2 separate regions of the Homo sapiens genome follow, and region 2 is linked to region 1. Evidence: promoter capture Hi-C in 16 types of primary human blood cells and fetal thymus (Javierre and others, 2016). All regions are on one chromosome and are shown on one strand. Each heading gives the region's core, a stretch centred on a gene start or on the middle of the fragment in contact. The rest is flanking DNA. Distances are from core to core; before and after follow the strand shown.

Region 1 (2,700 bases), core at 112-2,611:
TGGCTCATCCAGGACTCATCGTGAGATCCTGAACCGAATCAGGTCTGCGGAGTCGTTCTGCCACAAGGTGGCAAAACCACGGCTCGGGGGTTGCAGCCTGGGCGTCTCTGCAGGAGTCATTGGCTCACCACTGGGGGTTTGCATACAGTAGCCGGGGATTTTGGTGAAAATCGCCACGCCTCTTTTCTTTTTTTTTTTTTTGAGACGGAGTCTTGCTCTTTCACCCAGGCCTGAGTGCAGTGGCGCCATCTCGGCTCACTGCAAGCTCCGCCTCCCCGGTTCATGCCATTCTCCTGCCTCAGCCTCCTGAGTAGCTGAGACTACAGGCACCCACCACCACGCCTGGCTAATTTTTTTTGTATTTTTAGTAGAGACGAGGTTTCACCGTGTTAGTCAGGATGGTCTCGATCTCCTGACCTTGTGATCTGCCCACCTCAGCCTCCTAAAGTGCTGGGATTACAGGCGTGAGCCACCGCGCCCGGCCTCTATTTTTTTTTTGACAGAGTCTCGCTCTGTTGTCCAGGCTGGAGTGCAATGGCACGATCTTGGCTCACTACAACCTCTGCCTCCTAGGTTCAAGCAATTCTCCTGCCTCAGCCTCCCGAGTACCTGGGATTACAATCACCCAGCACCACCCCTGGCTGATTTTTTGTATTTTTAGTAGAGACGGGGTTTGGCCGTGTTGGCCAGGCTGGTCTCGAACTCCTGACCTCAGGTGATCCGCCTGCCTCGGCCTCCTACAGTGCTGGCATGACAGACGTGAGACGCCACACCTGGCTTCTCTATGGTCTTTGATTTGCATTTCTTTGATGGCGGATGATGCCATTCATATATCTTTTTTGGTAAAGTGTCTGTCCAGGTCTTTTTGCCGTGTTTCGATTGGGCTGTCTACGTGGTGACCGTGAGGCTCTGGCCGAGTGAGTGTCGTGGCTCAGCTGGCGGTGATGAGCATCGGGCACCTGCTCCACATCTGGGTCTCTTCCTTGGGGAAGTGTCTGTTCAGATCTTCTGCCCATCTTTTATTACTGAGTGGTGAGAGTTCCTAGGTGTTCTCGTTCCAAGTCCTTCATCAAGTATGTGCTTTGAAAATATTTTCTCTTGGCCTTTGGCTCCTTTTTTCTTTCTTTTTTTTTTTTTTTTTTTTTTTGAGGCAGAGTCTTGCTCTGCCACCCAGGCTGGAGTGCAGTGGCACCATCTTGGCTCACTGCAAACTCTGCCTCCTGGGTTCACGCCATTCTCTTGCCTCAGCCTCCTGAATAGCTGGGATTACAGGCACCCGCCACCGCGCCCAGCTAATTTTTGTATTTTTTTTTTTTTTTTTAGTAGAGATGGGGTTTCACCATGTTGGTCAGGCTGGTCTTGAACTCCTGACCTCATGATCCACCCGCCTTGGCCTCCCAAAATGTTGGGATTACAGGCGTGAGCCACTGTGCATGGCCTCCTTTTTTCATTTAACAGTGTCTCTTCAGGAGGATCCTTTTTTTTTGAGACGGAGTATCATTCTGTCGCCCAGGCTGGAGTGCAGTGGTGCAATCTCGGCTCACTGCAAGCTCTGCCTCCTGGGTTCACACCATTCTCCTGCCTCAGCCTCCCGAGTAGCTGGGACTACAGGCGCCCGCCACCACGCCCGGCTCATTTTTTGTATTTTTAGTAGAGACGGGGTTTCACCATGTTAGCCAGGATGGTCTTGAACTCCTGACCTCGTGATCCGCCCGCCTCAGCCTCCGAGAGTGCTGGGATTACAGGCATGAGCCACCGTGCCCAGCCAACAAAGACTTTCTCCTATGGTTTTTCTTGAGTTTTTATCAATTTAAGTATAACGCATAGCTCCATGATTCAAGTTGGTTTTTTTGTATGTGGCGTGAGATCAGCTTGAGGTTCACTTTTTACATAGGATTATAAGGTTGTTCCAGTGCTGCTTGCTAAGAAACCTGTCTTTTATCCATTGAGTTACCTTGCTAACTACTATATACATAAAATTAATGAGAATTTCTTTTATCTGTCTTTTTTTTTTTTGAGATGGAGTTTCACTCTTGTTGCCCAGGCTGGAGTGCAATGGTGTGATCTCGGCTCACCGCAACCTCTGTCTCCCTGGTTCAAGCGATTTTCCTGCCTCAGCTTGCCGAGTAGCTGAGATTACAAGCACGCACCGCCATGCCTAGCTAATGTTTTGTATTTTAGTAGAGACGGGGTTTCACCGGGCTGGCCAGGCTAGTCTCAAACTCCTGACTTCATGATCCACCCATCTCGGCCTCCCAAAATGCTGGGATTACAGGCATGAGACACTGTGCCTGGCGGAAACCCAAATTTTAGCATTTCACACAAGGGAGAGTTCTTTCAGCTTATCCTGATTTCTTTTATGTGTTTTTCACCTTGATTTGTTACAATAATTTAGATTTAAAATTTGGCTTTAAAATTGGGTGATTTTGGCCAGGCATGGTGGCTCATGCTTGTAATCCCAGCACTTTGGGAGTCTGAGGTGGGCAGATCACCTGAGGTTGGGAGTTTGAGACCAGCCTGACCAATGTGGTGAAACCCCGTCTCTACTAAAAATACAAAAATTAGCGGCCGGGCGCGGTGGCTCACAGGCCTGTAATCCCAGCACTCTCGGAGGCTGAGGGGGGCGAATCACGAGGTCAAGAGATCGAGACCATCTTGGCTAACACGGTGAAACCCCGTCTCTACTAAAAATACAAAAAA
Region 2 (2,700 bases), core at 63-2,562, 50 kb before region 1:
ACCTCGCTTCGCCTTTGCTCACTCATGGAGAGCCCTCAGCCGCCTCCCACTGCCGCTCCTGAATGCGCCTCACACATCCAGATTTGAAAGCACCCATAGGGCCGCCGCCTCCCACCTCCCGAGGAATCCGCTGCGCTGGGCCCGCAGGGAGGCAGGCTGGACGGCCCGGGCGCCTCCCCATTGGTTGGCCGGGCCGGGCTCGACTCCCTCGCGCGGCTGCCGGCCACAGGCTCACCTCCCTTCCCGCCGCGCCCGGGGAGAGGAAGCGAGGTGGCCTTTACCCCTGCGCAGGCCGGCCAGGAATGCGGGGCCGCGCTTCCCACTCTACCCGCCCGAGGGCTGAGGACGGCGGAGGCGAGAAGCGACGCGCAGAGTCCGGGCGCCGAGTGGTGGAGACGCGTCCCAGGCCGTTCGGATCGGGGCTGCACACGGGCTGGGGCGAGGCCCGGGCCGCTGGTTCCCGCCCCCTCCCGGAGCCATTCGTCCCCCGCAGACAACACGACGGGAGGGACCCACGCGCGGCCGCCGGTGCCCCTAGTCAGCCAAAAGCGAGCCCCACTGGCGGGCACCCCCACGAGGCCTGCGCCCGAGGTGCGCCGATCTCCGGGTGCGCCGAGGCCCCCGAGGGTAGGCGCGCGCGGTGCCCAGGCCCTTCCAGACCCCGCACCCCGGGCGGCCTTCCTTGGGGGCGCCTTTTCCGCACCGCGAGCGGCCCGCGTTGATGCCCGGCCGGGCTGGGGGAGTCGCCAAGTTTGCGAGACGCGCGCAGTGCAACCGCGCGTCAGGCGCGGGGACGGCCGGTGACCTGGGCACCCGCGCGCCCCCGAGGAACCTGCGCGTGGGCAGCGCCCGGTGCGCGGCCCGGGAAGGGAGCGGGTGCCCTCGCCGGGGTCGCCGCTCCCGTGGGGTGTTTCCAGGCTGCTCCGCGCTCGCGGGGCAAGGGCGCAGCGGGGGCCAGGGGGACCCCCGCGCCGCGCCGCCCCAGCCCCCCGCCAGCCCAGGGGAGGGGGCTTCCCACAATGCCCAGCGAGCTCCAGCCCGCACTTCCGCTGTCCGGCTGCCCGCGGGGGGGAGAACGGACCCCCGGCGCGGCCCCCTGCGACCCCGCGGCGCGGCGCCGGGAGCCGAGCGAGGGGCGGGGCCGGCGGCCGGGCCGGCGTGGGCGGGGCCCGGGGCGGTGGCCGCGGCCGGGGCGCGGCGCGGGCCAATCAGCGGCGGCCGGGCGCGCGCCGGGGGGCGGGGTCAGGGTCCGCGGGCGGGGCGCGCGCGCGCGGGCGGCGGGGGCCGCGGGGTTGGAGCGGGCGCGGGGGCGCGCGCCGGCCTGACGGACCGACGGACGGACGGACGGACCGAGCAGCCCCGGCGAGCGCGCAGCTCGGACCCGCCCGGACGCAGCGCCCTCCCGGCGGCGGCGGCGATCACCGGCGCCGGCCCGGCGGCCGCGGCGCCCGCCCTCGCCCGCGCCCCATGGGGTCACAGGTAAGCGGCGCCGGCTCATTGTCCGCGCGGCCGGGCGGGCGCATCGCGGCGGGGGCCGGGCCCGGAGCCGGGAGCCGGGAGCCGGGGCCGCTGCGAGCCCGGGCGCGCCCCCGCCGCCGGCCGCCCCGCCACGCCCCGCCCCGCGGGGGCGCCCTCCCGGGGGCCATCGGCGCTCCCAGCTGCGGCGCGGGCTCCGGGGGCGGCGGCGGAGACCCCGGCCCGGCCCCCGCGGGTGCCCCCCAGGCCGGCGGCGCGGGGCGGGGCGCGCGGGGGCGGCGCGGGTTCCCCGCGGGGCTGAGCGCGGAGGCGGCTGGGCTGCCCCGGCCCCTCGGCCCCCGGCACCTCCCGCCGCCGCCGCGCTCCCTCCCCGGCACCTCCGAGAGGGGAATTTTCCAGCTGGTAATTTCTGCTGCGTCAACGCCTGGCCCCGAGGCAGCCCGGGGGCGTCTTGGCGCCCCCCGCCCGCGCCCCCCGCCGGCACAGCCCAGCCGCACCCGGAGCCGCCCGCGCCGAGTTTGCCAAGAGTCGGAACTGCGGGAGGTGGGCGCGGGCGGGTCCCGGCGCCCTGAGGCCGGGGGGTCATTGTCTCCCCGGACGCCGGGCGCCGGCCTGGTCTCCATCTTAATCGCCGGCCGAACCGGGGCGCAGGGGCCTCGGGGCGGGGCGGCTCGGGGCGCGGAGGGCTCGGGGCGCGCGGGGCGGACGGGGCGCGCGGAGGAAGCGGGGTCCGCTGCGAGCCGCGTCTTTGTTTCTCTGTAAATAGACATGTCAGTTTCGCGGGGGAGCGCGAGCCGGTGTCTGACAACTCAATCCCTAAGGCAAACGGGGAATTCTCTGCGCCAGAGGGAGGGCTCCTGCTAGTTGGGGTTCCCCTGGCCCCGCTGACAGATTCACTGTTTGTAGGTTTAACGAAGCACACACAATAGGGCTGGACCGAGGAGCCAGGGTACAGACCAGATGGGGCGAAGAACGGATATTTTCTGACAGCGAAGAAATATAAACAAAAGAAAGTTTGAGATTCGCAGCGAATTTCCTCTCTCGCTTTCCGTGCTGCAATCTCAACGATGCATTTGGAGTGGATTACGGTGGCAAGATTGTGATCAGCATTGTTTAAAGAAATGCTAATTAGAAACGTGTTTAGCGCGCGGCCTGGGCGCAGACACCTGTGCGCCGAGAACTCACGGGCATTTTAATTGTATCGATTGTAGAATCTTTCATATT

What was found. The method cuts DNA at HindIII sites, captures the fragments that hold promoters and counts their contacts. A CHiCAGO score of 5 or more calls a contact.
Region 2: a contact is called between the fragment with the promoter of ZBTB46 here and a fragment that was not itself captured in region 1, in 2 of 17 cell types (M2 macrophages and M0 macrophages). The highest score is 5.1, in M2 macrophages.

The regions. Positions count from the first base shown.
Region 1 is chr20:63,779,588-63,782,287 of GRCh38, reverse strand. The region is part of intron 2 of ZBTB46 (zinc finger and BTB domain containing 46); the gene reads left to right. Among named protein-coding and RNA genes, the nearest start is that of ZBTB46-AS1, 27 kb to the left of the region's middle. The HindIII fragment of the contact is 5,454 bases long and covers 1-2,700 here.
Region 2 is chr20:63,829,876-63,832,575 of GRCh38, reverse strand. ZBTB46 (zinc finger and BTB domain containing 46) reads left to right here and starts at 1,312. Exons shown (of 5, transcript NM_001369741.1): 1 at 1,312-1,479. RefSeq lists a silencer at 1,155-1,294. The HindIII fragment of the contact is 15,017 bases long and covers 1-2,700 here.